Linked DNA regions of Homo sapiens: regions 1, 2 and 3 are each linked to region 4. Evidence: promoter capture Hi-C in 16 types of primary human blood cells and fetal thymus (Javierre and others, 2016). All regions are on one chromosome and are shown on one strand. The core of a region is centred on a gene start or on the middle of the fragment in contact, and the rest is flanking DNA. Distances in the headings are between cores, read along the strand shown. Region 1 overlaps PRKCSH (PRKCSH beta subunit of glucosidase II). Region 2 holds the start of RGL3 (ral guanine nucleotide dissociation stimulator like 3). Region 3 holds the start of CNN1 (calponin 1). Region 4 holds the start of SPC24 (SPC24 component of NDC80 kinetochore complex).

Evidence for each region. Contacts are between HindIII fragments. The CHiCAGO score rates a contact against its expected background, and 5 or more counts as called.
Region 1: a fragment that was not itself captured here is called in contact with the fragment with the promoter of SPC24 in region 4 in 8 of 17 cell types (M0 macrophages, M1 macrophages, erythroblasts and 5 more); the score reaches 8.6 in M0 macrophages.
Region 2: the fragment with the promoter of RGL3 here is called in contact with the fragment with the promoter of SPC24 in region 4 in 6 of 17 cell types (neutrophils, M1 macrophages, erythroblasts and 3 more); the score reaches 9.5 in neutrophils.
Region 3: the fragment with the promoter of CNN1 here is called in contact with the fragment with the promoter of SPC24 in region 4 in 9 of 17 cell types (neutrophils, M0 macrophages, erythroblasts and 6 more); the score reaches 14.1 in neutrophils.

The regions. Positions count from the first base shown.
Region 1 is chr19:11,443,497-11,449,072 of GRCh38, reverse strand. PRKCSH (PRKCSH beta subunit of glucosidase II) reads right to left here. Exons shown (of 18, transcript NM_001289104.2): 8 at 3,600-3,684; 9 at 2,723-2,801; 10 at 1,913-1,999; 11 at 1,455-1,634; 12 at 1,284-1,380; 13 at 782-851; 14 at 444-533; 15 at 85-159. Among named protein-coding and RNA genes, the nearest start is that of PRKCSH, 11 kb to the right of the region's middle. The HindIII fragment of the contact is 4,726 bases long and covers 134-4,859 here.
Region 2 is chr19:11,414,847-11,420,639 of GRCh38, reverse strand. It overlaps RGL3 (ral guanine nucleotide dissociation stimulator like 3), which reads left to right and starts at 1,326. Exons shown (of 19, transcript NM_001035223.4): 1 at 1,326-1,394; 2 at 1,856-1,969; 3 at 3,581-3,804; 4 at 3,973-4,026; 5 at 4,492-4,703. The coding sequence starts at 1,362. It overlaps ODAD3 (outer dynein arm docking complex subunit 3), which reads left to right. Exons shown (of 13, transcript NM_145045.5): 13 at 1-35. The HindIII fragment of the contact is 8,157 bases long and covers 1-4,638 here.
Region 3 is chr19:11,536,999-11,542,256 of GRCh38, reverse strand. CNN1 (calponin 1) reads right to left here and starts at 3,406. Exons shown (of 7, transcript NM_001299.6): 1 at 3,267-3,406; 2 at 1,060-1,181. The coding sequence starts at 3,329. RefSeq lists enhancers at 597-716, 3,490-4,435 and a silencer at 2,381-2,430. The HindIII fragment of the contact is 23,519 bases long and covers 1-5,258 here.
Region 4 is chr19:11,151,279-11,157,154 of GRCh38, reverse strand. SPC24 (SPC24 component of NDC80 kinetochore complex) reads left to right here and starts at 1,373. Exons shown (of 5, transcript NM_182513.4): 1 at 1,373-1,538. The coding sequence starts at 1,379. RefSeq lists a silencer at 1,257-1,416. The HindIII fragment of the contact is 19,008 bases long and covers 1-5,876 here.

The sequences.
Region 1 (5,576 bases), core at 1,247-3,746, 290 kb before region 4:
TGAGAGACACAGGGTGCTGAGGGCTGGGCCGGTGTCGGGGCACCAGGAGGAGGCAGAGGGAAGGGGCCAGCCCAAGCCACTCACCCAAGGCTGGTGGGAGAGCCCCCGAGTTTGGGTTTCTGCGAGACAAGCTTGAAGGGGCAGAGGCGGTAGACGTATCTGTGGAGGACCGGGACATATGGGTTGGGGAACGCAGGGATTCCAGCCTCCTCCCACAGCCACCCCCCACCGCCTCCTCCAGTCCCCACACACAGGGTACCTCCAACTCCAATGACCAACCCTAAACCTGGCCCCTGGCTTCTGCTCCCCCTCAATATGGAAGGCAGCACTCTCGGGCCCCACCCGCAGATGGTTCCCCAACCATCAGGAAACTGCCGGTGCCACTTCCGGGGCCACCCGCCTCCCACCCTGCCAGTGGGGGCCCCTGCATTCCTGGGACGCACTCGTTGGTGGTGAGCTCGTAGCACTGGCTGTACAGGTAAGCAAACTCCCCGTTGGGGCCAAAGTCAAAAGAAATCTCTTGCTCCAGGTTCCTGGAAGGGGAGGCGGAGCGGTTAAGGGGCAGCTGGGGACGCCAGTGCCTGACCCAGGACGACAGACACAGGAGGGTCTGGCTGAGCAATGGTGCCCAGGCTGTCCTCCCTGCCACCTCCCAGGGACCCTCCCTGCAGGGACCAGGCCCAGCCTGTGGTTGCCTCAGTGATTCCCCATCACCAGCTCCCCTGGGAGTCAAGGAGCAGTCGCTGTGGGACAGGTGTCCCCGCTCCTCAGCCCCCGCTACCTGATGGACTCCTCCATGTCCTTCAGCGACCGCTCGGCCTCCTCGAACTTGTTGCGGGCCTCCTGGGCAGCTGGGAGAGGGGTTGGAGGTCAGAGATGTCCTCAACCCCATCCAGGAGGATGGGGAACGGGGTTCCATGGATGTGGCTGTGTGCTCCCATACCCTCATTTTGCTCTGGCCAAGGACTTCACCCCGACAGCCTTGAGGGCCTCACCAGCTATAGAGCAGCCCCGACTTGCTGCCCAGGCTCCCAGCTCCTGAGCGAGTGGGGCCAGGAGTGACACAAACAAGCTGCGGCCCTTGGGGAGGCAGAAGGGCCCCTTGGGGCTGGCGAGGGTGGGACTGGCTTACCCTAGGCCCCCTTCCTGGACTCCCCAAGATACTGGGGCTTGTGCTGGCCGAGTCAGAGCAGGGTCTAAGCTCAGGATCTTCCCTCGACCTGTGCCACCACGGCAGGAAACGCTGGGCCCACCCGAGGAGCCTGGCCCCCGCCCACCCTCACCATCGATGAAGGCCTGCGTCTGCTCGTCGTAGGGCGGCATTTTGTCTTCCTCAGCAGGGCTGGCCGGCTGCGGGGGTGACAGTGGCGGTGGGGCCTCCTGGGGCAGGGGCAGGGTCAGTGAGTAGCCCTTCCCCCACCCTCTCTGTCTCCACTTCTCCCCCAAACACGGACCTTGGGCTGCTCCCCCTGCACCTCGGAATCCTCCTCCTCCTCCTCTTCTTCAGCCTCTTCTTCCTCCTCCTCCTCCTCCTCCTCCTCCTCCTCTGTGGGCGACGAGGGCACTGGCGGCTGCTCCTCCTTGGGCTCCGTCAAGTCAGGGGCAGAAGGTGCTGGAAGGTCGGTGGGCAGTGCCTGGCGGGTGAGCAGTGCGGTCGGTGTTGTGGACTCAGGGTCCACCCACACCCTCAGGCTCACACCACAGCCCAAGGGGCAGCCTCGGTGTCTCTGCCCCTCCTGCGGGGCCTGCAGGGAGGACCGACAGCTGGGGTCGGGGGGTCTCGGTGGGGGGTGCTGGGGCCACCCAGCTGGCCAGGGTGGCCAGGTGCCAGAACCAGAGGCAGCTCCTTTGTGAGGCGGGGTGGGGGCAGTGTGGTGGGAGGACCAAGTCCCCTCCCTTCTCCTCCACTGACCTCGGACCGGTACTTGTCCCTGATGGCGGCCCAGACGCGGTCGTAGAAAGAGGTGGCGTCTGTCTGTGTGTCCCCACTGAGGAGGGCCTGTGTGTGTTGGGGGTGGTGTCAAGATCTAGGCCACCACGTGTCCCCCATCTCGGCCACCCCGGCACCCGGGCTGCGGTGCCAGGCACGGGAGGGCTGGGCCCCGGGCCCTGATGACCAGGCCAGGGCCACGCCAGTGAGGCACTGCGGCCAGGAGGGGGCAGCACAGGCCCGTGGGAGGGGAGGAGGAGACCAGGGGCTGGAGTGGTTGGGGGCACTGAGACAGAAAGAGAGAAGCAGATGGACAAACGGACGTACAGATGGAGGAAGAGAGAGCCCAGGACCAGAGAGGGCCAGGCCCTCCAAGGGAGAGGCCAAGGCCCAGGCTGCAGATGGAGAGGGAGAAACCCAGGGGTGGGCAGAGAAGGGAGGCCAGAAGCCAGGGGCCACGGGGAAGGAGGAGGATAGGAAAGGAGACAGACAGGGGACGAGGGTGTGGGGGAGGAGGGGAATAGGGCAGGACAGGGGTGGGGGAGGAAGGGGATTGGGTGCTCAACAGCGGGTAGAGTGGGGGCAGGTGCGGGGAAACGGGCTCCAGCGCGACCTGGCTCCATCCCGGGTCCTGCCAGGCGGGAAGCGGCCCTGAGTGGCTGCCATCCCAGCTCACCCAGAGGAGGCATCCCAGGCCAGCAAGGAGCTTTCCTTGGTCCCCCTCCTGTGCCCTGAGGTCACCCTGGGGCAATGCTCCCTAGAAGTCCCCAACCAAGGGGCAGCCGGGGGTACCTGAGCTTCCGCTTCTGACAACGCCCCATCCCCATCTGTGTCCAGCTCCGGGTGAGTCTGCAGCTCAGTCACCGAGACCCTGCGGGGGCGTGGCAGAAGCAGACTGGAGGGGTGAGGCCCCAGTGGCTCTCAGTTGGGGGCACCATGTGGCCCACCTGTTCTTCCCTGCAGGGCCCCACCCTGGAACTTGCTTCAGGACCTCAAGGTGTAGGGGCCTCCCCACCCTCCTGCCCCCTCCTCAGGACTCCATGACCCCAAAGGAGCTCAAAGTAAGGGGTGGGACTGGGAGATACCTGGACCCCCAAATGTCCGATGACCTCTCTACCAACTCACCCAGGTGGCACCTCCTTCCACCCCAGGACCCGGCACATTGAAGCTGCCATCTGCCTTGGTCCCCCACCCAGCAAAGCCCACCCCCACCCTTGCCCATTCGGTCCCTCTGAAGCCCCCTGCTCCTTGGCACCTGACATCTCCTAGGCTCCCCGTGTGCCTCTCAGCCCCCAAAAGTCCACCCTCCACCAGGTAACCCAGCAAGCTCAGAGGCACAGCCAGGATTCGAACCCAGGTCTGGCTTTCCCCAGAGCGTAGTGGGGCTGGGAAAAGCCATCCGATCACTAGATGCCTAGACACACTCCCTGAGGCTGAGGGTCTGTGCCCAGCTCCTGGGGAGAGGGTGGTCCCCCTATCTCCTCGCCCAGGGCATCCTGGACCTGGCCATCCACGAGTAAGAGGCGGGGTCACACGGGGCTTGGGATCAGCCTGGACCCCACGCCGGGGGAACCCAAGGAGGATCTGGCTGGTTTCTAGAGGCGAGGGTGGCGGGGAGGGAAACCCAGGCCCACGGAAAGGTGGGCAGCTCCAACTAGGGGACACTCACGTCCCGTCCATGTCATCATCCAGCTCCTTGAAGGCATCAGCCGCCAGCTCCTGCTCCTGTTGGGCCTTGGCAGCAGCCAGCTGCTCTGTAAAGAAGCCACCTCTGTCACCCCCTGCCCACCCACCGGCTCCCATCAGCCCCCGCACCCCACAGGGTCGTTTGCCACCAAGCGCCTACTATATGCCTGGCCCCATGCTGGACCCTGAGGACACGACTGTGGAGGAGACAAAGGTCCCTGCCCTTACCAGGGGAGAACAGACGAAGAGCAAGGTGAATGGTTGAAGCCTGGTTGTGTTGGGGGAGACCGGGACAAGGTGGGGAGTGCAGAGGCAGGAGGGCCACTGGTGGGGCTGGAGCAGGGAGGTGGGAACCCAGGTGGCAGAGGGCAGCCCTGTCAGGCCACTGTTGGGACAGAGGTGGGGGCGAGGGCAGAAGCCAGGTGATAACAAGGGCTGGCCCAGGCTGGGGACTGAGGAAGAAGCACGGAGCAGAGGCAGATTCTGGGGAGACGCAGATGGAGTGCGCAGACGGTCAGAGGTGGGAGGTGGGGTTGGGGAGAGGAGAGCGACCACTGAGACTTTAGGTTTAGGACCTGGCAGAGGCATGTCGGGGCAGGGCTGGCAGGAATGAGACTTCATGGCCAAGGATGCTGGGAGATGGGGAGGATACAGGGAGGGAGACCGGTCCTGGGGGCATCTTGGGGGTCCCCAGGGCTGCTCCCAGGAAGAGGGGCCAGCCGGACAGAAGGGGACCGAGCCTCTGTCCCAAAAGTCCCTCCTTTGTCTGTCGCTACTCTAACCTAAGCAGAGCGGAAAGCAGCCACAACAGCGGCTCCAATGATTAACTTCCTACTGTATACCAGGATTCAGTTCCCACTGTATACCAAGCTCCAGCTTGGTCCTCTACAAACAGAATAAAAACAGCTGGTATTTCCTCTAGAGAGTCTTAGGTCACCCCAGGACATCCCGCATGTCCCAGGAGACCCGGCTGACACTGTTCTGAGTCTCACAGATGAGGGCCTGAGGGGTCCCTGACCTTTCTGTGGGTGAAGGGACCTGCCCATAATCACCTAGCCAGTGAGAGGTGTAGCCTGGGGCCCAATCCAGGCCATCTACCCTCGGAGCCCTGGCTCAGCCCCGCCACCCTTTGGGAATCTGGGTCAAAACATGGCGCTTCCCTCTGATTCCACAGCTCCACACTGAGAACACATCCTGAGGAAAATCAGGCCTGAGCTTGCCCAGACCCAAGTGAAAGGAAGCTTGCAACACGACAAAGATTCAGGGGCAGACAGAGCCAGACAGTGAATTCCCTTTCTACATGCAATGTGGCCTTACCAAAAAACACCAGGCTCTAGCACCAAAAACAAATGAAGAAGGGAAATAATATCTTCAGTTGCAGACAGAGCTGGGCACCGTGGCTCATGCCTGTAATCCCAACACGTTGGGAGGCCAAAGCAGGCCACCTGAGGTCAGGAGTTCAAGACCAGCCTGGCCAACACGGTGAAACCCCGTCTCTACTAAAACTACAAAAATTAGCCGGCTGTGGTGGCAGGTGCCTGTAATCCCAGCTACTCAGGAAGCCTAGGCAGGAGAATCACTTGAACCCAGGAGGTAGAGGTTGCAGTGAGCAGAGATCGGGCCATTGGCACTTCAGCCTAGGCGACAGAGTGAGACTCCATCTCAAAAATAAATAAACTAAAAAAAAATCTTCAGTTGCAGACAAAGGGCCAAACCCCAGATAGAAAAAGCTCTTTATTATTTTTTTTAGATGAAGTATTGCTTTGTCACCCAGGCTGGAGTGCAGTGGCGAGATCTCAGCTCACTGCAACCTCTGTCTCCCGGGTTCCAGCGATTCTCCTGCCTCAGCCTCCCAAGTAGCTGGGACCACAGGCAGATGCCACCATGCCAGGCTAATTTTTTTTTTTTTTTTGAGACGGAGTCTCACTCTGTTGCCAGGCTGGAATATAGGGGCGCAATC
Region 2 (5,793 bases), core at 77-2,576, 260 kb before region 4:
GCCTCAGAGTTGCGCAATAAATGTTACCGACCATGCCCCTGGGTATTCATCTGTTTTTGACCCTGCACCACCCAAGAGACGGCTGTCCCTGAAAACCCAGGGCCACAGACTGCCTCCTCCAACCTGGGTCATGATGACTCCCATCAGCTAGTGACGCAGATGGAGCTTAAAAATGGGAGATGGCCCGATGTAGTGGTTTTATGCCTGTAATCCCAGTATTTTGGGAGGCTGAGTTGGGAGGATCACTTGAGTCCAGGAGCTCCAGGCTGCAGTGAGCTATGATCGTGCTACTGCACTCCAGCCTGGGCCACAGAGCCAGACCCTGTCTCAATAAATAAAATAAGGGCGGGGTGCAGTGGCTCATTCATACCTATATTCCCAGCACTTTGGGAGGCTGAGCTGGGTGTGTCGCTTGAGCCCAGGGGTTCCAGACTAGCCTGGGCAACATGGTGAAAACCAGTTTTTACCAAAAAAAAAAAAAAAAAAAAAAAAAAAAAAAAAAAAGCTGAGCATGGTGGCATATGCCTGTAGTCCCAGCTACTTGGGAGACTGAGGCAGGAGAATGGATTGAACCCAGGAGGCGGAGATTGCAGTGAGCCAAGATCAAGCCACTGCACTGCAGCCTTGGCAACAGGAGTGAGACCCTGTCTCTAAAAAATAATAAGGCTGGGCGCCGTGGTTCATGCCTGTAATCCCAGCATTTTGGGAGGCTGAGGTGGGCGAATCTCTTGAGGCCAGGAGTTTGAGACCAGCCTGGCAAGTATGGCAAAACCCCGCCTCTACAAAAAATACAAAAATTAGCTGAGCATGGTGGCGGCACCTGTAATCCTAGCTACTTGGGAGGCTGAGGCACAAGAATCCTTTGAATCTGGGAGGCGGAGGTTGCAGTGAGTTAAGATCAAGCCACTGTACTCCAGCATGGGTGACAGAACGAGACTCCATCTCAAAATAATAGCAATAATAATAAAAAGTGGAAGATGCCCCCACACTTGATCAAGCTAGCCCCTTCCACTGGAGGACAGAGGACTCTGGTCTGGGGACACACACATGCCCCCACACAGGAGCTCCCCCACATCTGGGGATACAAAAAAGACCCCTTGGGGACAGATATGTCCTTTCTTCTGGGGACAGATTGATAGGCACCCAGCGGAAGAGCCAGGACCTCTCCTGGGCTGGCGCTGGGTCCGGCTGGAGGCACCCAGAGGCTGGGTCCGGCCTGCCCTGCCCCGCCCCGCCCCAGCAGCTCGGCCGCTCCGCCCCTCTGGCCTCAGCGCCCGGCCACTGCCCGCCGCCCGCCACCCGCCACCCGCCGGCCCTTCCGCCTCACTCAGCGGCGCCACTGAGAGGGACGGGCGCCGGCCATGGAGCGCACAGCAGGCAAAGAGCTGGCCCTGGTAAGGGGACAAGGGATCCCCGGACCCCGCATCCCTGGTGACCCGCAGGTCCAGAAACTCCAAGCGCCCGCCCGTCGGACGGTATCTGCTCCCAATCTGAACTTGCCCTGGAGTCCCCTCCTGGGGACTCGCGGCCCTTGACCCAGTGAAGCGACTGGTTCCTCTTAGGGATGGGGGCGCGAGTCTCTGAGCGCAGTCGGCAGAAAGAGCTAGAGACAGGTTCTATTAGACTGGGCCCTGGGACATCCCCAAATGCCACCCCATGTCCTCAGGACCTGGGAGGAGGGGACCCGCAGCGAGGAGGGGACTAGCCTGGGACCCCAGCCCTAGTCTCGCAGCTTCTGGCCGGGAAGGGGCGTGGGGATGCAGCAGGAGGACTCGGCCCGAGTCCGAGCGGCCAAGGAGGCTGAGGCCCCAGGACCTGTGCCCCTTTGGTGCCCTGAGTCCGCCTGTGCGTCCAGGCACCGCTGCAGGACTGGGGTGAAGAGACCGAGGACGGCGCGGTGTACAGTGTCTCCCTGCGGCGGCAGCGCAGTCAGCGCAGGAGCCCGGCGGAGGGCCCCGGGGGCAGCCAGGTGAGGAGGGGGTTTGGTGGGTGGCGCGGGGCCGGAAGCGACCAGTTGAGGGCGGAGCTGGAGAGCCGAGCACAGGCCGCCAGGTGCAGTGGGCGGAAGGAAGGGAGGGGCTCGGAGGCGACCAGATGAGGCGACCAGGTAGAAAGGGGACTGGGGGCGGCCAGGTAAGTGGGGGGAGATCCAGGGAATGGGGTGGGGCCAGGCGATGGCCGCGCAGTTCCCGAGAGGAGCCTAGGGACAACTTGGTAAGGACAGAACTGGACGGCAGAGTTGGGAAAGGCAGGTTTAGAGGGCCGGGGCTGGAAGGTGGAATGGGGTTGGTTTAGAAGTGGCTAGGTGAGGGCGGATGGGGCAGCCAGTGAAGCGCGACAGGAGGGCTGAGGGAAGCCCTGGGTGGAAAAGAGTGTGTGGGGCGGGGGCGGGGGGGTGGGGGGAGGGGACGGGAGGGGGAGGGGACGGGAGAGGGAGTAGGGGACAGGGCATGGGAGAGGGAGGGTTTCCAGGGCAAGTTGCAGGAGCTATTTGTGGATGGGGAGGAACAATAACTTCAAGCGGGCAGGGAGTGGGGCACACACCTATAATCCCTGCGCTTCGAGAGACCAAGGCAGAAGGCCAGGAATTGGAGACCAGCCTGGACAACACAGCAAGATTCTCTCTAATAAAAATAAAAATTAAAAAACTAGCTGTGCGTGATGATGCCCAGCAGTGGTCCCAGCTACTCAGGAGGCTGGGGCAGAGGGACCGCTTGAGTCTAGGACTTGGAGGCTGCAGTGAGCTATGATTGTGCCACTGCACCCCAGCCTGGGCAACAAAACAAGACCTGTTTCTAAAAAAAACAAACCAAAACAATAACTCCAAGAAGCCGGGAGACAGAGGAATCACATGAAAGAATGGTGCTACAGGCGGGGCGAGGTGGCTCACGCCTGTAATCCCAGCACTTTGGGAGGCCGAGGCAAGTGGATCATCAGGTCAGGAGTTCAAGACCAACCTGGCCAAGACGGTGAAACACCGTCTCTACTAAAAATACGAAAAAACTAGCTGGGCTTGGTGGCGGGTGCCTGTAATCCCAGATACTTGGGAGGCTGAGGCAGAGAATTGCTTGAACCCAGGAGGCGGAGGTTGCAGTGAGCCAAGATCACGCCACTGAACTCCAGCCTAGGTGACAGAGTGAGATTCTGTCTCAAAAAAAAAAAAAAAAAAGTGGTGCTAGGGGCTGGGCACGGTGGTTCACGCCTGTAATCCTAGCCCTTTGGGAGACTTTGGGAGGCCAAGGGGGGCAGATTACTTGAGGTCAGGAGTTCGAGACCAGTCTGACCAACATGGTGAAACCCTATCTCTACAAAAATACAAAAATTAGCTGGGCTTGGTGGTGTGCGCCTGTAGTTTCAGCTACTTGGAGGCTGAGGAAGGAGGATTGCTTGAACCCAGGAGGCAGAAGTTGAAGTGACCCAAGATCGTGCCACTGCACTCCAGCCTGGGCAACAGAGTGAGACTCTGTCTCAAAAAAAAAAACAAAAAAAAAAAGAGTGGTGCTAGTGATGAATGTGACTAGAGAAGGGGTGCTGTGAGGACCACTCCTGCTCTCTCATGGCCACCTCTCCCCTCCTGCAGGCTCCCAGCCCCATTGCCAATACCTTCCTCCACTATCGAACCAGCAAGGTGAGGGTGCTGAGGGCAGCGCGCCTGGAGCGGCTGGTGGGAGAGTTGGTGTTTGGAGACCGTGAGCAGGACCCCAGCTTCATGCCCGCCTTCCTGGCCACCTACCGGACCTTTGTACCCACTGCCTGCCTGCTGGGCTTTCTGCTGCCACCAATGCCACCGCCCCCACCTCCCGGGTCAGTAGCGAACCATAACCTCCGTATTCTCCACCCTAGAACCCCAACTGGGCACCCCCCTCCACCTCCTCAGGTGTGGAACCTGGAAACACCTCCCAGACCCAGAGCCCTCTTCCTAAGCCCCCTCTAGGTTCCCCCTTCTTCACCTGCTGGGGGGCCTCTTCCCAGGGTAGAGATCAAGAAGACAGCGGTACAAGATCTGAGCTTCAACAAGAACCTGAGGTGGGTCCTTCATCCAGATAGGGGAGTGCGGGGAGGGAAATCCAAGAGGTCAAAGGTTAGCAGTCGGACTGGGGTTTTGAAAATTGCAGGTTGGGTAATAAGAGACTGGGAGTCAGGTGGGGCGTGGTGGCTCATGCCTGTAATCCCAACACTTTGGGAGGCCGAGGCAGGTGGATCACTGGAGGTCAGGAGTTAGAGACCATCCTGGCCAATATGGCGAAACCCTGTCTCTACTAAAAATACAACAACAACAAAAAAAGGTAGCTGGGTGTGGTGGCGCATGCCTGTAGTCCCAGCTACTCGGGAGGCTGAGGTTGCAGTGAGTCAAGATCAGGCCATTGCACTGCAGCCTTGGTGACACAGTAAGACTCTATCTCAAAAAAAAAAAAAAAAAAAAGGTACCAGGAGTCATATTCTATGTCCCCCACTCTGGACCCAGCTCTGAGACCCTGCCTCTCTGGCCAGGGCTGTGGTGTCAGTGCTGGGCTCCTGGCTGCAGGACCACCCTCAGGATTTCCGAGACCACCCTGCCCATTCGGACCTGGGCAGTGTCCGAACCTTTCTGGGCTGGGCGGCCCCAGGGAGTGCTGAGGCTCAAAAAGCAGAGAAGCTTCTGGAAGATTTTTTGGAGGAGGCTGAGCGAGAGCAGGAAGAGGAGCCGCCTCAGGTGTGGACAGGTGAGGGGTTTTCAGATCCAGTCGTGTTCTGAGAAGGCCTTTCCTGTCTGCTTCTTCCCACACAGGCTTTCTCTCCCCTCTCAGAGCTACAAAACTTAAGCAAGATTTTAAACTCTAAGCCTCAATTTCTTCATCTTTACAATGGGGATAATAATTCTTTGTCAGCCGGGCGTGGTGGCTCACGCCTGTATCCCAGCAGTTTGGGAGGCCAAGGATGGTGTATCACCTGAGGTCAGGAGTTTGAGACCAGTCTGACAAACATGGAGAAACCCCATCCCTACTAAAAATACAAAATTAGCCGGGCGTGGTGGGGCATGTCTATAATCCCAGCTATTCGGGAGGCTGAGGCAGGAGAATCGTTTGAACCCGGGAGGCGGAGGTTGCGGTGAGTCGAGATCGTGCCATTGCACTCTCGCCTGGACAACCAGAGCGAAACTCCGTCTAAAAAAAAAAACAAATTCTTTGTCTGAAGTATTAGCATGTGTCTAATACTTTTCCCTCCTTGGTGCCGTTGGGTCAGGATGCTCTGTGTTTCTAGCTACAAACCATTGCCTTGATACTTGTCTTTATTTTCTTTTTTTTGAGTCAGGGTCTTGCTCCGTTGCTCAGGCTGGAGTGCAGTGTCTCCATCATGGCTCAGTGCAGGCTCAACATCCTGGACTCAGGTGATCCTCCCGCCTGGGTCTCCAAAACTGCTGGCATTACAGGCGCGAGCCACTATACCTAGCCTGTAAAATTTTTCTTATTTTTGAATTTCTTTTTAAATTTAATTTAATTTAATTTTATTTTTTTATCTATTTTTTTTTTTAGACAGAGTCTCGCACTGTTACCCAGGCTGGAGTGCAGTGGCACAATCTTGGCTCACTGCAACCTCCACCTCCTGGGCTCAAGCCATTCTCCTGTCTCAGCCTCCTGAGTAGCTGGGACCACAGGCGCATGTCACCACGCCCGGCTAATTTTTTTGTAAAGGTGAGGTTGTGCCATGTTGCCCAGGCTGGTCTCAAACTCCTGAACTCAAGTGATCTGCCTGCCTTGGCCTCCCAAAATGCTGGGATTACAGCCATAAGCCATTGTGCATGCGTAGCCTCCT
Region 3 (5,258 bases), core at 2,157-4,656, 380 kb before region 4:
CATGTCACTGCACTCCAGCCCGGGTGACAGAGGAAGACTCCATCTCAAAAAAAAGAAGAAGAAGAAGAAGGTCGGGCGAGGTGGCTCATGCCTGTAATCCCAGCAATTTGGGAGGCCGAGGCAGGTGGATCACTTGAGGTCAGGAGTTTGAGACCAGCCCGGTCAACATGGTGAAACACTGTCTCTACTAAAAAAAAAAAAAAAAAATACAAAAATTAGCCAGGCGTGGTGGCATGTGCCTGCAATCCCAGCACTTTGGGAGGCCAAGGCAGGTGGATCACTTGAAGTCAGGAGTTCAAGACCAGCCTAGTCAACATGGTGAAACTCCATCTCTACTGAAAAAAAAAAAAAAAAAACAAAAATTAACCGGGCATGGTGGCACGTGCCTGTAATCCCAGCACTTTGGGAGGCTGAGGTAGGTGGATCAATTGAGGTCAGGAGTTCGTAACCATCCTGGCCAACATGGTGAAACCCCATCTCTACTTTAAAAAAATACAAAAATTAGCCAGGCATGGTGGTGCGTGCCTGTAATCCCAGCTATTGGGGAGGCTGAGGCAGGAGAATCACTTAAACCCTGGAGGCGGAGGTTGCAGTGAGCCGAGATTGTGTCTCTGCACTGCAGCCTGGGCAACAGAACAAGACTGTATCTCAAAAAAACAAAAAGAAAACAGAAAGAAAACCAGGGCCTCCTTTAATTATTGCTGCACATCTCTCCTCACATCACCAAGCCAGCCATGAACAGCTGTTGGCTGCTGCCTTTTAGCTGTGACCGCTCTTTCTGGGGACTCTGGCGGCCACAGATGGGCCTACCCTATATAGCATGGTGGTTAAGATTCTAGAGTCATTTCCCTTGAAACCACGTGGGACTTGGTGCAATGCATTTCACCTGAGCCTCAGTTTTCTGTGCCTGTTAAATGGGCACAATGATTACTGGCCACCCCAAAGGTATCCAATAGAAAGTGTTCAACTCAGTTCCAGGATCATGGTTGTTTTGGGGGTTGAGGGGCTGCATGGAGTTGGGGGATGTTGCAGGGTCTCGGCTTCGAGAGCCTCACTCACTCGCAAAGAATGATGCCATCTTTGAGGCCGTCCATGAAGTTGTTGCCGATGCGACGGCCTGTCACCCCCTCGATCCACTCTCTCAGCTCCTGCTCCCGCTGGTGGTCATACTTCTGGGCCAGCTGGGGCGAGGGGAGGGCAGGGGGCACAGAGAAAGGGGTGAGGATGCATTGGGGGCAGCCTGGGCTCCCTGGGTCCTGTCTGAACTTCCTAGAGCCTGATCTCCCTCGTCCTTCCCAACTAAGGCAATTTTGCCCCAGATCCATAGTTGGGGGATGGGGGCTGGGGCGGGCTGAGAGCCAGGGCTGAGGTGGCACCTGCCCAGGGGGCCATTCCGGGCATTCTGAGGTTTGGCACCAGGGAATGTAGATGAGGGGTGGGGTGTGGGGAGCTGGATCCTCTGAGCTAGAGGGGTGGCACCCGGCACCCTGGTTTTTCGCCCAGGCCAAACTTGGGGCTTCTCTTCCTCTAGCCCTGCCCCCTCTGTGCCCCCTGTTGGAAGAGAGGGCACCTCAGGAAGGGAAGAAGGATGTCTAAGGAGGTGTCCCTGGGTGCTGGCTTGCAGAGGAGTGCTGGTCATACATCTCTGTCTCTCCGTGTCCCCCAGGTCTTCAGCTCCAGGGCTCTGTCTCTGGTTAGTGGTGGGGGCTTGTCTCTGTCTTAGCCCCCACCCCTTGCACGTCTGTATGTCTCTCTCCCTCTTATCCCCCCGACTCCTCTGTCTCTCTCTTCCCCAGCGCTGTCTTTTCTTGGCCCAGTCTTGGGTCCCCATCTCTCTAGGTGGCTAGTCCCTGTCTGGCCAGGGGTAGGGCTCCTGGGTCTTGTATATCTGCCTCTCTAGGTCTTTCTCTGTCTCCAGGTTTCCTGCCTGGGGTGGGGGTGGTGGGGCTCTGTCTCCTCTCCCTGCCCCTCCATCCTTGTCTAGGTCTTATCTCGCTCCTGGCTCGCCCTCCCCCGTCTGTCCCTAGGGTGTCTCAGGCTCCCAGTATCTCTGTCTGCCTCTCCCCCCACCTCCCTGCTTTTCCCTCTCTCCACTGTCCCCCCCCTCCCCCACTCCACTCCCATTTCTCCAGAACCCTCCGCCCAAGCCCAGCCAGGCTCCCAGCCCCTAGGGGACCGGGCTGCCTCTTCTTCTCCCGGGTGAGTGGGGGGAGGTGGGAGGGGCGGCCCCCTCACCTGGCCCTGGCCCTGCCGCCCCCCACGCCACCAGCCCGGCTTTATAAAGCAAACCGGCCCTTATATAGCGTGGCCCGGGCTCCCCGAGGCCGCCTTATAAGGCGCGGCGTCTCTGCGCGGCTCTGCGCGGCTCTGGGGCCGGCGCTGGGGGGGAGGAGGGCGGCGCTGGGATCTGTCTCTCGCCCGAGGACCCGCCCCCCACCAGCCCCCTCCTCCAGCCCCGAGATCCCTCGACCCAGGTTCCAACCCAGTCCCCCACTTCCTCACCATGGGACCCTGGGAAAAGCCACCCTGAGCCTCAGTGTTCCCCTCTGTCAAATGGGGCAGGAACTCCTCCCTCGGCAATACTGTTGGGGCGATTCCAGTGGGCTGGAAACTTAAAGTTCTCCAGCTGGGAGAAGCTGAGCCCATCCTGGTGTATGGGGGGTGAGTCCAGGGTCCGAGCGCTGTACCTGCTTTACCTGGGACCCCAGCTATTTGCCTCTCCTCTCCGAACCTCAGTTTACCCAACCATAGCATGAAGGTGGTGTCCAGGTATCTTCCTAGCTCCACAGTCAGGAGACCCCTGCCGCACTTCTGATGCCCGCTTCCTGCCTTTCACCGTCCCCCTCTGTCTTCAGGATCTCCCACACTTTCACGGCGTCACTTCCCAGGTACCCCAGCACTCAAGCGCTCCCCAATTTCTTTGTCAGGCCGGGGGATATGGAAAAATCAACAAGTCTTCCCCCTATGTTGTTCCCCCCAAGAACACGAAGGGTTAACAGAAGACTGATCAGGTGGGTATCTTTGCAATGGACTGACCCCCTCTGTTTATGTGTGGCTGTGTGCCCCCCCATTCCAGCCCCAACCATAGCTGGGGGCTCCGGGATGTTCAGGGGGAGACAGGCAGCCCCTATCCCATATCACTCCCTTTTCCCCTCTCAGTTTCCAAGTCACATAGGATAGGCAGGAGGGGGTTCAAGGGACCCCAAGCTCAGGGCTCTGGCCTGGCAGGACGTGTGGGCCAGGCCAGGGAGGCCCTCCAGCCCTACCTTGTTCTTAACCTCGGCTGACAGCCCGTAGGCAGGGCCTCGGTTGAAGTGAGCAGAGGACATGCTGGCCGGTGGGCTCTGGCGGGGGCAGTGGCGGCACTGACGCTGAGAACAGAGGCAGCGGCTGAAGTTCCGTCTGCACACTCTTCCCTCCTCACATGTTTTTGAAGCTCCGGAGGCGACCCGGGTCTCTTCCAGGGCCGTTCCATTGGCTGTAGGGGCCTGCCAAGGGGCGGGGCACCTCCCCCCACAACCTCAGCTGCCTTCCCCTCCCCTTGTGATGTCAGGCCCTTGGTATTGGGAGCTGATTGTGTCATTGTTTCCACCTAGGGGGGCAGCCTGCGTTATTCTGGGGGGGCTTGGTCAGACAGAGACCAGCCTTCTTCCACCCACCCCTCCCACTGTCCATTGGGCCTCTGGCTGGGTCTGAGTCTCTTTGTCTCTGAGGTCATCTCTCTTTATCTCTCTGGAGTCTTGAAGCAGGACTGACACCCAAGGTAGTTTAGTGAGCACCATCCCGGGTTTATCTCCAGATACCAACAGTCTATAGCCTTAGGTAAGCCCCTTCTCCTCTCTGGGCCTCTATGGCCACATCTGTAAAATGGGCTAACGATAGTGCCTGCCTCATGGGAGAGTTGTAAAGATCAGAAGAATATGCCTGTTACATGCCCAGCACAGTGCCCGGCACAGCAGAGGGACTCGGGCCATAGCAGTCTTTTTAAGGCAAGGTTTCACTCTGTCCCCTCGGCTGGAGTGCAGTGGCACAATCACAGCTCACTGCAGCCTTGACCTCCCAGGCTCAAGTGATCCTCCCATCTCAGCCCATCCAAGTAGTTAGAATTGCAGACTTGTGCCACCAACCTGGCTAATTTTATTTTATTTTTTTAGAGATGGGGTCTCGCTATGTTGCCCGGGGTCTCGCTATGTTGCCCAGGCTGGTCTCAAATTTCTGGGCTCAAGCAATCTGCCCGCCTTGGCCTCCCAAAACGCTGGGATTTACAGGCATGAGTCACCATGCCCAGCCTATAGCATTCTTTATGCTGAGGGTCCAGCACCCCAGTTCTGTCTCCTCCAGCCCCTCATAAGGACCTGGGGGAGAAGAGATCCTGGGTCTCACCCTCCCCATCCACTTGTGTGTCACCTGAACTACAGGGTGACTTTGTTGGCAAGTCCCAGGCCGTGAACTGTGTCCCTGTCAAACAGCCCTACCCAGCCAGATCTCACCCCTGGACCACAGGGGTGGATGCTATGCCCACATCATGCCCCACATGGCAAGGCCATGTTTGTGACACTTGGATGACATGTCTGCAACCTGCCACACACTAATGATATGTTGAGGATATGCAGTTTATCGGTCACATGCTAATGGCATGGCTGCAATATGCCACAGACTACAGCCCTTATGTCAGGCCATGTTCCAACTCTGTACATATATCCATTCAATTCTCATGACGCCCTCAGAGATGGACACTGTTATTATTATTATTATTATTATTATTATTATTATTTGGAGACAGAGTCTCTATTCCCCAGGCTGGAGTGCAGTGATGCTATCTCGGCTCACTGCAACCTCCACCTCCTGGGTTCAAGCGATTCTCCTGCCTCAGCCTCCCAAGTAGCTGGGATGACAGGTGTCTGCCACCACGACTGGCTATTTTTTGTATTTTTAGTAGAGACGGGGTTTTGCCATGTTAGCCAGGCTGGTCTCGAACTCCTGACCTCAGTTGATCTGCCCACCTCGGCCTTGCAAAGTGCTGGGATTACAGGCGTGAGCCACCGTGCCCAGCTGACACTGTTATTATTAATACAAGTACTTTGCTTTACAGGTGGGGAAACTGAGGCACGGGGGCTTGGAATCACTTTTTCAGCGTCACACAGCAGGCCAGGGGCAGAGGAGAATTTGAGACCATGCTCCATGAACCTCAACTATGAGGCTAAGGTGGGGTTTCTCAACCTCCACACTGTTGACAGCTGAGGCTGGATAATTCTTCA
Region 4 (5,876 bases), core at 124-2,623:
TAGGAAAGCAATGAGATGTTCTTTAGGTGGTAGCACACATAAAAATGTTGCCACGCCAGGCGCGGTGGCTCACGCCTATAATCCCAGCACTTTGGGAGCCTGAGGCAGGCAGATCACGAGGTCAGGAGTTCAAGACCAACCTGGCCAACATAATGAAACCCCGTTTCTACTAAAAATACAAAAAATCAGCTGGGTGCGGTGGCGGGCACCTGTAATCCCAGCTACTCGGGAGGCTGATGCAGGAGAATGCCTTGAACCCAGGAAGCAGGCTGGAATGCCTTGCACTCCAGCCTGGGCAACAGAGTGAGACTCTGTCTTAAAAAAAAAGAGAGAGAAAGAAAAAAAGATGCCATCTTAACATCTTGTTTCTTGCAGAAATACCAGTGTCTAGCATGGAACCAGCACCTTAGAGTCAGCACTGATCTTTTCTTTGTTTTGTTTTGTTTTGAGACAGGCTAGTCTCAAACTCCAGGGCTCAAGCGATCCTCCTGTCTTAGCCTTCCAAAGAGCTCAGACTTACAGGCGTGAGCCACTGCACCCAGCTACATGCTAGGATTCTATGTATGTTTCATTAAACAACTATATAGCACCTACTGAATAGGAGACACTATCACGCCAGGCTGGGCTCGGTGGCTCACGCCTGTAATCCCAGCACTTTGGGAGGCGGAGGCAGGAGGATTGCTGGAGGCCAGGAGGTCGAAGTTGCAATGAGCTATGATTGTGGCACTGCACTTCAGCCTGGGTGACAGAGCAATACCTTGTCTCTAAAAAAAAAGTAATAAGAAGAATTCTCACGCCAACGCTGACACAGGCACTAGTATGACCCTCATTTTACTAAGGAGGAAAGTACCGCACAGAGAGGTGAAGTCTGTCCAGGGTAACACAGCTAGTAAGTGGCAACGCTGGGATTCGAACCCAGTAAATCTGGCTGCAGACGCCATTTTGCTATGCAGCCTCTCATAGAATCTACTTATTCTCTATGCTTATTGTGTATCCCACGCACACACTGTAGGATGTAAGTTCCAGGAGAAGCTGCTCGCTGCTTTGCCGTTAGAACCCCACCCTGCACAGAGCAAGCGCTCGACCTATGGAGAAATAAACAGCCGCTTTCTCTCCCGCGCAGGCGCATCGGGAAGGATAACGGAGCCTCCCCCTTCCTGCGCCGATTGGTCATCACCGATGACTGACGGAGGAGTGGTCGCAGGCGCACCAGGCCAGACCAAAGGCGGCTTAGCCCAGTCTAAGATCCTGTTCCCCATGCCTATTGGCCATTGCTTATGACTGACGTATCAAAAAATCCAATGGAAAGCAACCTCTTCTGGAAGAGGGCGGGCCCCGCGGACAGTCAAATTTGCGCGGGTTGGAGCCTGGCGTAGTCATGGCCGCCTTCCGCGACATAGAGGAGGTGAGCCAGGGGCTGCTCAGCCTGCTGGGCGCCAACCGCGCGGAGGCGCAGCAGCGACGGCTGCTGGGGCGCCACGAGCAGGTGGTGGAGCGGCTGCTGGAAACGCAAGACGGTGCCGAGAAGCAGCTGCGAGGTGAGGGTCGGAGCGTGGTCGCGGGCCCACGGGGGAAGGGGCCCGGGTGCTGGGAGGGGGCGACCAGGCCCACCTCAAAACCCCTTCTCTCCTGGACTCTCCCATCTCCTGCCCTATGCCCCCTGGGACGGCCCCCTCTGAGCCTTAGTTTCACCATCTGAGAAATCGGCTTTATGACAGCAACCATCCCCCACCCCCCAGGGGTTTAGTGGTAAATATAGGAGTCTGGAGGGGTTGGCCCCTTCTGAGCTCTCCGTGAGCAGGAGCTGGGGGTCTCAGGGTTTGAACTGGGGCTCAGGAGTCAAAGCTCCGGGTTTGAATCCTAGCACCCATCCCCATGTCCGCTGTGAGACTTGAGGTGAGTTTCTTAAATTCTCTGTGCCTCAGCTTCCTTCCTTGTCAAATGGTTGTGACAATAGCCCATCCCTTCTTCCTGAAGGCATTCAGATGTTTTATGGAGCATCTGCTGCTGCCAGGCCCTGGGCTCACCGCAACCTCCACCTCCCGGGTTCAAGCTATTCTCCTGCCTCAGCCTCCTGAGTAGCTGGGATTACAGGCGCTTGCCACCGCACTCGGCTAATTTTTGTATTTTTGGTAGAGACGGGGGGTCACCACGTTGGCCAGGCTGGTCTCAAACTCCTGACCTCAGGTAATCTGCCTGCCTCAGCCTCCCAAAGTACTGGGACTGCAGACGTGAGCCACTGTGTCCGGCCCATCTTCACTATCTGTAACTGCACAGTTCAGTGGCCTTAAGCACATTCACACTGCTGTGCAACCATCAGCACCATCATCCATCTCCAGAACTTTCTCATCTTTCCAAACTGAAGCTCTGTCCCCATGAAACACTCACTCCCCATCCCCTTCTCAGACCCTGGCACCCACCAGGGTTCTACTTTCTGTCTCAAATTTGACTCCTCTAGGAACCTTACGAGGAATTGTACAATATCTACCCTTCCTAGTGGAATCATACAATATCTACCCTTTTGTGTCTGGCTTATTTCATGGAGCATAATGTCCTCCAGGTTCATCCATGTCATAGCCTGTATCAGAATTTCCTTTCATTTTGTGTACTTACTGTGAGACAGAGCCTCGCTCCATTACCCTGGCTTGAATGCAGTGGTGTGATCTTGGCTCACTGCAACCTCTGCCTCCCAGACTTAAGTGATCCTCCCACCTCAGCCTCCCAAGTAGCTGAGAACACACTTATGCGCCACCATGCCCAGCTAATGTTTGTATTTTTAGTAGAGATGGGGTTTCACCATGTTGGCTAGGCTGGTCTTAAACTCCCAGCCTCAAGTGATCGCCCACCTCGGCCTCCCAAAGTGCTGGGATGACAGGGGTGAGCCACTACGCCTGGCCAGAATTTCCGTCCATTTTAAAGCTGAGTCATATTTCATGATATAGAAGGATGGACCGCATTGTGTTTATTCATTCATCCATCCATGGGCACTTGGGTTGTATCCACCTTTTGGCTGTGTTGAATAACGCTGCTATGAACACGGGTGCCCAAATATCTCTTCAAGACTGTATTTTTTTTTTCCTTGAGACGGAGTCTTGCTCTGTCACCCAGGCTGGAGTGCAGTGGCGCAATCTTGGCTCACTGCAAGCTGCGTCTCCTGGGTTCACGCCATTCTCCTGCCTCAGCCTCCCGAGTAGCTGGGACTACAGGTGCCCGCCACCACGCCCGGCTAATATTTTTATATATATTTTTTTAGTAGAGACGGGGTTTCACCGTGTTAGCCAGGATGGTCTCGATCTCCTGACCTCATGATCCACACGTCTCGGACTCCCAAAGTGCTGGGATTACAGGCATGAGCCACCGTGCCCAGCCATATTTTCTTCTTTTTTTTTTTTTTCCCAGGACAGTCTTACTCCGCTGCTCAGGCTGGAGTACAGCAGCGTGATCTCTGCTCACTGCGACCTATGCCTCCTGGGTTCAAGCAATTCTCCTGCCTCAGCCTGCCAAGTAGCTGGGATTACAGGCACGTGCCAACATGCCCAGCTAATTTTTGTATTCTTAGTAAAGATGGGGTTTCACCATGTTGGCCAGGCTGGTCTCAAACTCTTGACCTCGTGATCCGCCCGCCTCGGTCTCCCAAAGTGCTGGGAATATAGGCATGAGCCACTGCGCCCAGCCCAAGACTCTATTTTCTTTTTTTTATTTTTTTGATATGGAGTCTCGCTCTGTCACCCAGGCTGGAGTGCAGTGGCGTGATCTTGGCTCACTGCGAGCTCCGTCTCCCGGGTTCACACCATTCTGCCTCAGCCTCCCGAGTAGCTGGGACTACAGGCACCCGCCACCACGCCCGGCTAATTTTTTTTTTGTATTTTTTTTGGTAGAGACAGAGTTTCACCGTGTTAGCCAGGATGGTCTCGATCTCCTGACCTCGTGATCCACCTGCCCCGACCTCCCAAAGTGCTGGGATTACAGGCGTGAGCCACCACGCCCAGCCAAGACTCTATTTTCAGTTCTTTTTTGTATTCAGCCAGAAGCAGATCAAATGGTAATTCAAAGTTTGATTTCTGAGGAACCGCCATACGGTTCTCCCTGACAGCTGCAGTGCCAGGGGTTTCAGGTGCCTTATACAGTCACATTTTATGAGGAGGCCTGGGCTGAGCCTTGATTGGCCTATGGAGCCAGTCCACGGGGTGGCTCAGGAACGGTGTTCCTGGCAGCGTGGATTGCAAATGCAAAGGTCAGGAGGTGAGAATGAACTTGGCAAGCAGAAGATGAGCTCAGCAGCCGCCTGACTGCCAGGCCTGGAGAGTGCCCAGGAGGAGTCTGAATATTATCCTGAATGTGATGTCCCAAGCAGGCTCTTCCCTCCTTCCCTCCTCCTTCTTCCACCCCTCCATTAACTCCCCCTCCTTTGATGGCTTGAGGAGAAAGATGTGACTCGGCCAGCCTGGCTGTTAGCAGAATGGATGAATCTGGGGCCAAGAAAACTGAGAATCAGGATCCAGGGATCCTAGGCTTTGGGTCAAACAGATCCAGTTCACATCCTAGGTTTGGAGCTATGTACCTGTGGGCGAGTCACTGAACTTCTGTCTCTGGACCTGTTTTTCATGTCACAGATGTGGGGCAGAGGAGTTAAAGTACACCCTCAGGCTGGGTGTGGTGGCTCACGCCTCTCATCTCAACATTTTGGGAGGCCGAGGTGGGTGAATCACTTGAGGACAGGAGTTAAAGACCAGCCTGGTCAACATGGTGAAACCTGGTCTCTACTAAAATTACAAAAATTAGCTGGCCGTTGTGGCGCATGCCTGTAATCCCAGCTACTCGGGAGGCTGAGACAGGAGAATTGCTTGAACCTGGGAGGTGGCGGCTGCAGTGAGCTGAGGTCACACCACTGTATTCCAGCCTGGATGACAAAGCAAGACTGTCTCAAAAAAATAGGCCAAGCACAGTGGCTCATGCCTGTAATCCCAACACTTTGGGAGGCTGAGGCAAGCAGATCACCTGAGGTCAGGAGTTCAAGACCAGCCTGGCCAACATGGTGAAACCCCATCTCTACTAAAAATAAGAAAATTAGCCAGGCATGGTGGTGCATGCCTGTAATCCCAGCTACTCGGGAGTCTGAGGCAGGAGAATAGCTTGAACCTGGGAAGCAGAGGTTGCAGTGAGCTGAGATCATGCCACTGCACTCCAGCCTGGGCAACAGAGCAAGACTGTCTCAAAAATAATAATAAAAGTTTAAAAAAAAAAAAAGGCCTGGTGCGGTGGCTCACACCTGTAATCCCAGCACTGTGGGAGGCCAAGGTGGGCGGATCACAAGGTCAGGAATTCTAGACCAGCCTGGCCAACATGGTGAAACACCGTCTCCGGTAAAAATATAAAAATTAGCCAGGCGTGGTGGTGGGTGCCTGTAATCCCAGCTACTCAGGAGGCTGAGGCAGGAGAATCACTTGAACCTGGGAGGCGGAGGTTGCAGTGAGCTGAGACCGTGCCATTGCACTCCAGCCTGGATGACAGGGCAAGACTCCATCCCCCCCCCCCAAAAAAAAAGTATCCCCTCAGCTGTGTGAGAATATGTCAGGTAGGAGCACCTTATAATGAACAGCCATGGGGTAGAGATTACTACTCAGGGAAGAATTCAAGAAGACTTGGTTGTCCTTCGGGAGGGCGGACAGACAGCGGGTGGGAAGGCTGTGTGAGCCAGCCAGAGCCTCAGCTGTCCTAACAGGAAATCAGCAGGCCCCATCCGAACCAGACCGATCAAGAAATAGCAGCATAAGCAAGTTAACTTAGAAATGTGGAGGCCAGTGCCAGAGAAAACAGCTAAAACTTGAAAGTGGCTGCTTCAGAGGGACGGAGAGGCTTGGAGAAGGGTGTGTGCG